Linked DNA regions of Homo sapiens: regions 1 and 2 are each linked to region 3. The links are contacts of gene promoters, found by promoter capture Hi-C in human tissues and cell types (Jung and others, 2019). All regions are on one chromosome and are shown on one strand. Each heading gives the region's core, a stretch centred on a gene start or on the middle of the fragment in contact. The rest is flanking DNA. Distances are from core to core; before and after follow the strand shown. Region 1 has its middle 19 kb from the start of ZNF135. Region 2 overlaps LOC124904784 (a long non-coding RNA gene). Region 3 holds the start of ZNF324B (zinc finger protein 324B).

Region 1 (2,781 bases), core at 171-2,670, 370 kb before region 3:
GCCACTGCACTCCAGCCTGGGCGACAAGAGCAAGACTTTGTCTCAAAAAAAAAAAAAAAAAAAAAAGTGATAAGATGAATACCAGCCCAGAGATGATAACAACTTGGGGATTATTGTGTTTGGTGAATGGGGTGAGGGACGTCACATTAAAACCATGGCATCAGGGCAAACCTCCGTGAAAAGACAGGCAGAGCCACAGCTGGAGAGACCTCCCCAGTACTGGGGCCTTGGTGAGGAGCTGGGGAGCTTAGATTTACCATGTCCCAGAAGCCACCCTCTCACTGAGCAGATTTCCCTGGCAGTTGCCCCCATCGCATGTGGCTGGTCCCTCAGGAGCCTGTGTCTCAAGAGCTACCTGGTCAGCCAGAGGCTGGACTTTGGAAAGCTGTTCATTTCATTGAGACATCTGGGAACCTTTCTACAAATTCATGTTCTCTCGAGTTGAGGGAAGGCTGGGCTGCACTATGTTTTGAGGCTCTGGCTTCATGGATTTGCCATGAAAGTAAGCTGAAACTCTAGGTCCCTCACTTTCAGGGATCCCTTCAAGACCAAGCGCCTAATTTTATCTTTGTAATTTTGAATTATTCTTCTGAAGAGGGACCCCTCAGTTGTGTGAGCCTTAGGCCCAACAAATCTGGATCGACCCCTGGTTCCAGCAACCCTCGTCTTAGAGACTTCTGCATGGACACTGGGAAGACAGAACCCAGCACTGCCAAGGGTAATGGATCTCCCATTTTGATGTGAGTGAAAACCACCTGAAGGTGGAGGGTGTTAAACCTGGGACCTTGCTTTGGTTGGTCCGAGGGGGTTTGGTAATCTGCACACCAAGGCACTGGGTGATTCTGAAACAGACCCGGAAGCCTCAAGTGAGAACTGTGCCCAAACTTCCTGAAGCAGTTTGTCTGCGAAGCCCATAGTTCCCAAGTGTGGCCCCATCCCAGGAGCCTCTCAGGTTGAAGGAACAGCTACTAATAAATCACTGACTTCACTGGACTCAGGGTAGGCAGAATGGAGTATCTGCCTTTCTTTGCATCAAAAGCACATCACCCTATCCTGTTCTGTATCTGCCTGAAGGAAGTCCACAGGGTATTCCCGAGACCCATCAGACACCTCACTCATTTTTTCATGATACCCAAGAGACACACTTAGAATGTACGCAGACTACACATATACCAAACACATTATACTCACATCTCATACCCTGAAAAATGACTGGGAGACATAAATACACTGAGATGTCAAAAGGAGTAGTCTGTTGCCCAGGCTGGAGTGCAGTGGCACGATCTCGGCTCACTGCAACCTCTGCCTCTGGGTTCAAATGATTCTTGTGCCTCAGCCTCTTGAAGTAGCTGGGACTACAGGCACGCACCACCATGCCTAGGTAATTTTTTTGTATTTGTACTAGAGTCAAGGTTTCACCATGTTGGCCAAGCTGGTCTTGAACTCCTGACTTCAGGTGATCCTCCCACCTGGGCCTGTCAAAGTGCTGGGATTACAGGCATGAGCCACAGTGCCCGGCCGAATCTGTGTTTTTAACTTTTACATAATTGGGAGAATTCTTTTTAAAATGGTGAAAAATGAACTTTATTATAAAAGCCCATGGCTGGGCGCGGTGGCTCACACCTAGCACTTTGGGAGGTTGAGGTGGGCAGATCACTTGAGGCCAGGGGTTCGAGACCAGTCTGGCCAACATGGTGAAACCCCATCTCTACTAAAAATACAAAAGTTAGCCGGGCATGGTGGCAGGGGCCTGTAATCCCAGCTATTCAGTACACCACGGCGAGAGAATCGCTTGAACCTGGGAGGCAGAGCTTCCAGTGAGCTGAAATTGTGCCACTGCACTCCAGCCTGGGTGACAGAACGAGGCTCTGTCTCAAAAAAAAAACAAAAAAAACTTTCAAAGGAATTTAAAAAACTGAAATAAATGTCCTCATAATTTCATGACCCTAACACAACTACTCTTTGCATTTCTATACTTTGTCTGCTAGGATTTGACAACTAATGCCCACTGTTTACACAGTTGCAACAGAATCAACAGTTACATTCTACTTGAACTACACTTACAAATTACTCTTCCAGCGCCGGGCGCGGTGGCTAACGCTTGTAATCCCCAGCACTTTGGGAGGCTGAGGCGGGTGGATCATGAGGACGTGAGTTTGAGACCAGCCTGACCAATATGATGAAACCCCGTCTCTACTAAAAATACAAAAATTAGCCAGGTGTGGTGGTGCGCACCTGTAATCCAGCTACTCCGGAGGCTGAGGCAGGAGAATTGCTTGGAGCTGGGAGACGGAGGTTGCAGTGAGCTGAGATCACGCCATTGTACTCCAGCCTGGGCAACAGAGCGAGAGCGAGACTCTGTCTAAAAAAAAAAAATTCTTCGATTTTGCTAGTCTTAATTATCATTTATGCCTTTTTACTATTGCTTTGAATGGCTCTACCATTCATATTTAAGTCATAGTATTTAACTTCATGCAAACCAGCATCCTTGTGTATATATATATTTTTGGTCCTTTTTTTTCCTTTTTGTGGAGGAAAAAGTGGGGTCTCACTATGTTGCCCAGGGAGGTCTTGAACTCCTGGGCTCAAGGGATCCTCCCACCTTGGCCTCCCAAAGTGTTGGGATTATAGGTGTGAACCACTGTGCCTGGCCCCGTATTGTTACTGAATACAGTTGGACTGTTAGCTTTCCAAAATGATTGCACTAGTTGACACTGATTCATAAAACTCTCCTCAACTCAAATAGTGATGGCAGACATGTATTTGTCTGCTTGGGTTGTG
Region 2 (2,794 bases), core at 18-2,517, 290 kb before region 3:
CGAGACCATCCTGGCTAACATGGTGAAATCCCGTCTCTACTAAAAATACAAAAAATTAGCTGGGCATGGTGGCGGGCGCCTGTAGTCCCAGCTACTCAGGAGGCTGAGGCAGGAGAATGGCGTGAACCCAGGAGGCAGAGCTTGCAGTGAGCCAAGATCGTGCCACTGCACTCCAGCCTGGGCGACAGAGCGAGACTCCGTCTCAAAAGAAAAAAAAAAAAAAAGAAAGAAAGAAAAAGAAAAGAGAGTGAGAAATGACTACTAGCAGAGATTGATCTATTTTCCTATCAGCCACCTGGAGAGACTGGGCTTATTCTTATTTGCTCAGTCGCTCCTGGCAAGACAGATTTGGAAACAAATCAACATGCTTTCGATGTGCTTAATACCAGCATTTTCTCTCCAGCTCTTAAAATTATGGTTTTTTAATTGATTGAACAAGCCATAATTTATTCAGTGAACAACTGTAGGGGATGTACAAATGTATCTGGTTTTTTTTTTTTTTTGGATTGTGAAACTATCATCAAAAGCAAAGAGATAACCAGGAAGGAAGACATTTGTCTGAAAACCATATGCCAGGCCAGGCGTGGTGGCTCATGCCTGAAATCCGAGCACTTTGGGAGACTGAGGTGGGTGGATCACAAGGTCAGGAGTTTGAGACCAGCTTGGCCAACACGGTGAAACCCCGTCTCTACTAAAAAAAAAATACAAAAATTGGCTGGGCATGGTGGCGTGTACCTGTAATCCCAGCTACCTGGGAGGCTAAGGCAGGAGAATTGTTTGAACCCAGGAGGCAGAGGTTGCAGTAAGCCGAGACTGCGCCACTGCCCTCCAGCCTGGGTGACAGAGGACGACTCCGTCTCAAAACAAAACAAAACAAAATAAAAACAACAACAACAAAAATGCCATCCTGAAAGTGGAAAGATTCACAAAGAATGAGCTTCATTTCTTCACATTTGGAAGAAACCAGGACTGTAAGGTCCACTTAGAGAAGCAGAAGGAGGACCAGGAGAGATGAGTCAAACAAATGATGCTTGAGGAACACTGATTCAGGAATGAGGTTGCAAGAATAAGAAATGCACAGCTAATGTTAAGTAGAATTCAAGCCTTCTTCCACTAAACAATATTCTTTTTTGTTTTGTTTTGTTTTGTTTTTGAGACAGAGTCTTGCTCTGTCACCCAGGCTGGAGTGCAGTGGCAGGATCTCAGGTCACTGCGAGCTCTGCCTCCCGGGTTCATGCCATTCTCCTGCCTCAGCTTCCAGAGTAGCTGGGACTACAAGCGCGCGCCACCACACCCAGCTAATTTTTTGTATTTTTAGTAGAGACGGGGTTTCACCGTGTTAGTCAGGATGGTCTCGATCTCCTGACCTCATGATCCACCCTCCTTGGCCTCCCAAAGTGCTGCCATTACAGGCATGAGCCACCGCGCCTGGCCTTGTTTTTGTTTTTTGAGACAGAGTCTCATTCTGTCACCCAGGCTGGAGTGCAATGGCATGATCTTGGCTCACTGCGACCTTCACCTCCTGGGTTCAAGCAATTCTCTGCCTCGGCCTCTCAAGTAGCTGGGATTCAGGCACCCGCCACCACACCTGGCTAATTTTTGTATTTTTAGTAGAGACAGGGGTGTCGCCATCTTGGCCAGGCTGGTCTTGAACTCCTGACCTTGTGATCCACCCACGTTGGCCTCTCAAAATGTTGGGACTACAGGCGTGAGCCACCGTGCCTGGCCCACTAAACAATATTCTTATCAATGAATACCACTACATACATGACTCATTGTAAAACAACATTCAGATTTAATAAACCATAAATGCACAGGGAAAAACCCCTGAAAATTATGATTTTGGGAATGCTTTTGGTCAAAACACTCAACTTCTTAGACTTGCAAACAGTTCAGTGTAGAAAAGCCTTATATATGAAATATACGTAGTAAATTTTTTAAGTGTAGCACAAGTCTCAGTCAATGTAAGCGAATTCATGTTAGAGAGAGTTGAGTTGAATGTAAGGAATGTGGAAAAGTGTATTCAGAGCTCCTCTCATCTTTGTTTTGAGAGCACTCACACAGTTGACAAACCCTCCAGATGTTCTGAATGTGAGAAATCCCTGTTTATGGTAAATACTTTCTGACATCAGAGAAGTCATACTGGAGAGAGACCATATAAATGTAGTATGTGTAAAGAAGTCTTTAAACAGAGCTCAACCCCACTGATGTATGAGCAAACTCTCTCAGGAAATAGACCTTACAAATGTGTTGAGTGTTGGAGAGTCTTTATTAAGAAATATTTCTTTCAGTATGTTTCAGAACTTATACAGGAGAACAATACTATAAATGTAATCGCTGTAGCAAAGGCTGTAGACACAAATTATACCTTATTCAATATGAGACAATTTATACTTGTGGGAAATTATATATTTGCAGTGAATTTAGGAAATTCTTCTAAAGAAGTGAACACTTTTACCCTATAGCTAAGAATCTATAGAGACACCTTATGAAGGGAATCATTCAGGGAAAGGTTTTACACTTTGCTCCTCCACTACTCAAAAATCACAGAAGACACACTGGAGAGCAAAGTGATGGATACAGTCATCGTGGGAAAGGCTTCAGACGTAGCCTAGCCCTTATGATGTGACATCAGAGGACTCATACTGAGGAAAACCCCATACATGTAATTTGCGTGGAAGAGCATTCAGGAGTTGTTCTCATATTATTGAACGTAAGAGGACTCATACTGGAGAACACTATGAATGCAGTCAGTATTGGCAAGCTTTCAACCATGGCTTTTACCTTATTTGAC
Region 3 (2,999 bases), core at 275-2,774:
GTAAGTCTCACGAGATCTGATGGTTTCATAAGGGGTTTCCTCTTTTGCTTGACTCTCATTTGCTCTTGCCTGCTGCCATGTAAGACGTGCCTTTCACCTTCTGTCATGATTGTGAGGCCTCTCCAGCCACGTGGAACTATGAGTCCACTAAACCTCTTTTTCTTTATAAATTACCCAGTCTCAGATATGTCTTTATCAGCAACGTGAAAACAGACTAATACACCAGGCATCGTGGCTCCTGCCTGTAGTTCCAGCTACTTGGGAGGCTGAAGTTGGAGGACTGTTTGAGCATGGGAGGCGGAGGTTGCAGTGACCCGAGTATGCACCACTGCACTCCATCCTGGGTAAGAGAGTGAGACCCTGTCTCAAAAAAAAAAAAAAAAAAGTAAAAAAAAATTGCTTGAAATGTTAATAATGCCTCTAAGCATTTGATTAAATCACAATAGTACTTAAGTGTTCTTAAATTCTTTCAAAGCAGGAAAAATTTAAATAAAAACATTCAAAAATTGTCGAGCTATCTTACACTATAGGGATCTACAAGTAGAATCAATTCTGTGGACAGTTATAGCTGACAGTAGACAGATATTTATAGATGGAGGTGGGTATAGAGGAAGACAAAATGAATTAACGTACTTGACATCTGAGAACTGTCTAAGGATCCTAAAAACAAGACCCTCACAGGGAAGCAACAAAGAGAGAATCGTTTATTCTCTGCCAACAACATGGTCAGTCTACATTGAGACTGCCCTGCCTTTTGTTGTTATGTGTCAAAGACACTTAGATTGGTCCAGAGAAAAAAGGAACAAAGCATCCATGTTGTGATGTGTGGGGCAAAGCAAGAACTAGATGGTCTAAGGACAAGCAAGGCTGGGGAATTACCTTCTGCTCGTCCAAGTTACAAGGAAAACAAGTTTTGGGCGAGCGTCCAAGAACAATCACAGAATCAAGACAAATGACAAGCGGGTAGTGTCATTACAGGCTGAGAATTCTTGGTGTAGAGGTTGAAAAACGGACCTTAAACCTTTACGGGACACTGACACACAGAGAGATCAAACCCTCGCCCAGGATGCACAGTCAGTGAGATGCAAAGCTGGGAAGGGAACCCGGAGCTCCAGGCATCTGCTCCTCCACCTACACCTGCCCTACCCGGTGCGTTTTCTCCTCCCTGCTACCTGCTGGTGTTGCCTTCTGGAACCTCCGCAGTTTCTGCTTTCACACCTGCAGGGTTTAGTCTCCAGGGCTGCTTAGGTGGGTGCCAGGAACTGGGAATCCCCAACGCGGGACAACCTGCCGGGCGACTCAACCAGTGCCACGGAGCCCTTGGAAACCCGCGGCAGCTGCGCTACTCCATTTCCAGGCGCCCAGCGCGGCGGCGCTTAGCCGTTGCCATGGAGACTGGTAATGGCCCCGCCTCCGCGCCGAAAAACAGGCAGGAACCACATAACCCAGAAGGCTGTGCGCAAGCGTCTGCGCGCGTATTGGGGCAATGTGAGCTCTGGGGGCTGGACTTCCGGCGTTGGGACTGTCACTTGGCTGCTCGCGTCAGGCCACACCGGTGGTCTGGGCTGTGGCGCGCGGGTCGGGGCCCGAGGCGGGCGGCCAGGAAGGTACGGACCACGAGCAGCCGGCCGCGCCCCCAAGCCTCGGTATCTTCGAGTATGACGTGGTCGGCCCGGGGGCGGTCGGGCCCCGGCGGGAACCACGCGTTCTCCCGCCCCGCGGAAGCCCAGGAGGCAGCGCATTGGGCATTCTGCGCCCATGACTGCCGGGCAGGCTGAGGCGCGGGGCAGCCGCGGGAGGCTGCTGGCGGGGATGGCGGTCCCGGGTGGTCCATGCCTTTCTTCCCTCCCAGTTGCGGGTTCCGCTGGCGGCGGTGGCGCTGACAAGCCCGCGCCGGGGGGGCGGGGGAGTCCCTGCTCACACAGACTGCGCCCCCACGGAGTGAGGCCGCTTCCTAGACCTCGCCTAGTCGTCTTTCCTCTCCCTGCCCTGGGGGGGTTGCGGGGGTCAGTGCAAACTCCTGCGTCCAGGGCACTGGTGAGCTCCCGACTTCCGGCAGCCAGGGGGCTGAGGTCCCGAAGGAGGCTCCGAGGGGAGAGTCCTGCGTGTGCAAAACCTGGGAGGGGAGCCGAAGCCCAGATGCTTCTGGGACTGAGCGCTCTCGATGTGGAGCTGGAGTAGAGGGGATGTGTGCGGCTGCAGTAGCAGGCGAGGGAGTGGGCTTTATCTCGAGGGCGTCGGGAGACATAGAAGTTTTGAACAGAATCAGGACATCCTCTGAGTTGGGACTTTAAAACGGTTCCACCGTTTGTTGCGTGGAGAACAGACATGCAGGGGTGTCGGCATGAAGGGAAGAACCGACTGCCACAGTCTGGGCAGCAGTGGAGGTGGGCGACCAGGTGAATTCTGGTGGATCTGCGGATGCATCAGGTGTGGGCTGTTTGAAGAACTAAGTACCCCATGTTGTTCAGCCTGAGCGCCTGGAAGAAGAGAGCTGCTGTAGATAGAAAGGAGAATTGAAAGGAAAGCAGGTTTCCTTCAGGGGAAAGATCAAGAGTCTGGGATGTCCCAGGTTGGTCATGTCACTGGACCTGACGTTGTTGGTGTCCTGGGCTGAGGACAGGGCCTATAAACTGGACTGAAGAAGGCGATGAGCAGTCAGGCGTGCGGAGTTACAGCTTGAGGGTAAAGAAAACCGGCTGGGGTGCCTGAGGCTATCAGGGGAGGAGTTCGGCAGGTGGCTGAATAGGAGAGGGTGGCAGCAATGTGGGAAAGAAATTGCGGGAGCGCTGAGATCGAGACCATCCTGGCTCACACAGTGAAACCCGGTCTCTACTAAAAATCCAAAAAAATTAGCCAGGTGTGGTGGCGGGAGGCTGAGGCAGGAGAATGGCGTGAACCCGGGAGCCGGAGCTTGCAGTGAGCCGAGATTGCCCCACTGCACTCCAGCCTGGGTGACGGAGTGAGACTCCGTCTCCAAAATAAAAATAAATAAATAA

Evidence for each region. The method cuts DNA at HindIII sites, captures the fragments that hold promoters and counts their contacts. A contact is called where the count stands out against the background at its distance.
Region 1: a contact is called between a fragment that was not itself captured here and the fragment with the promoter of ZNF324B in region 3, in 1 of the 25 tissues and cell types used here (dorsolateral prefrontal cortex).
Region 2: a contact is called between a fragment that was not itself captured here and the fragment with the promoter of ZNF324B in region 3, in 1 of the 25 tissues and cell types used here (spleen).

The regions. Positions count from the first base shown.
Region 1 is chr19:58,076,628-58,079,408 of GRCh38, forward strand. No RefSeq gene overlaps it. Among named protein-coding and RNA genes, the nearest start is that of ZNF135, 19 kb to the left of the region's middle. The HindIII fragment of the contact is 6,468 bases long and covers 1-2,781 here.
Region 2 is chr19:58,164,266-58,167,059 of GRCh38, forward strand. The region is part of intron 1 of LOC124904784 (a long non-coding RNA gene); the gene reads left to right. Among named protein-coding and RNA genes, the nearest start is that of ZNF329, 15 kb to the left of the region's middle. The HindIII fragment of the contact is 6,997 bases long and covers 1-2,794 here.
Region 3 is chr19:58,450,098-58,453,096 of GRCh38, forward strand. It overlaps ZNF324B (zinc finger protein 324B), which reads left to right and starts at 1,525. Exons shown (of 4, transcript NM_207395.3): 1 at 1,525-1,607. RefSeq lists silencers at 1,231-1,557, 1,535-1,964. The HindIII fragment of the contact is 12,073 bases long and covers 1-2,999 here.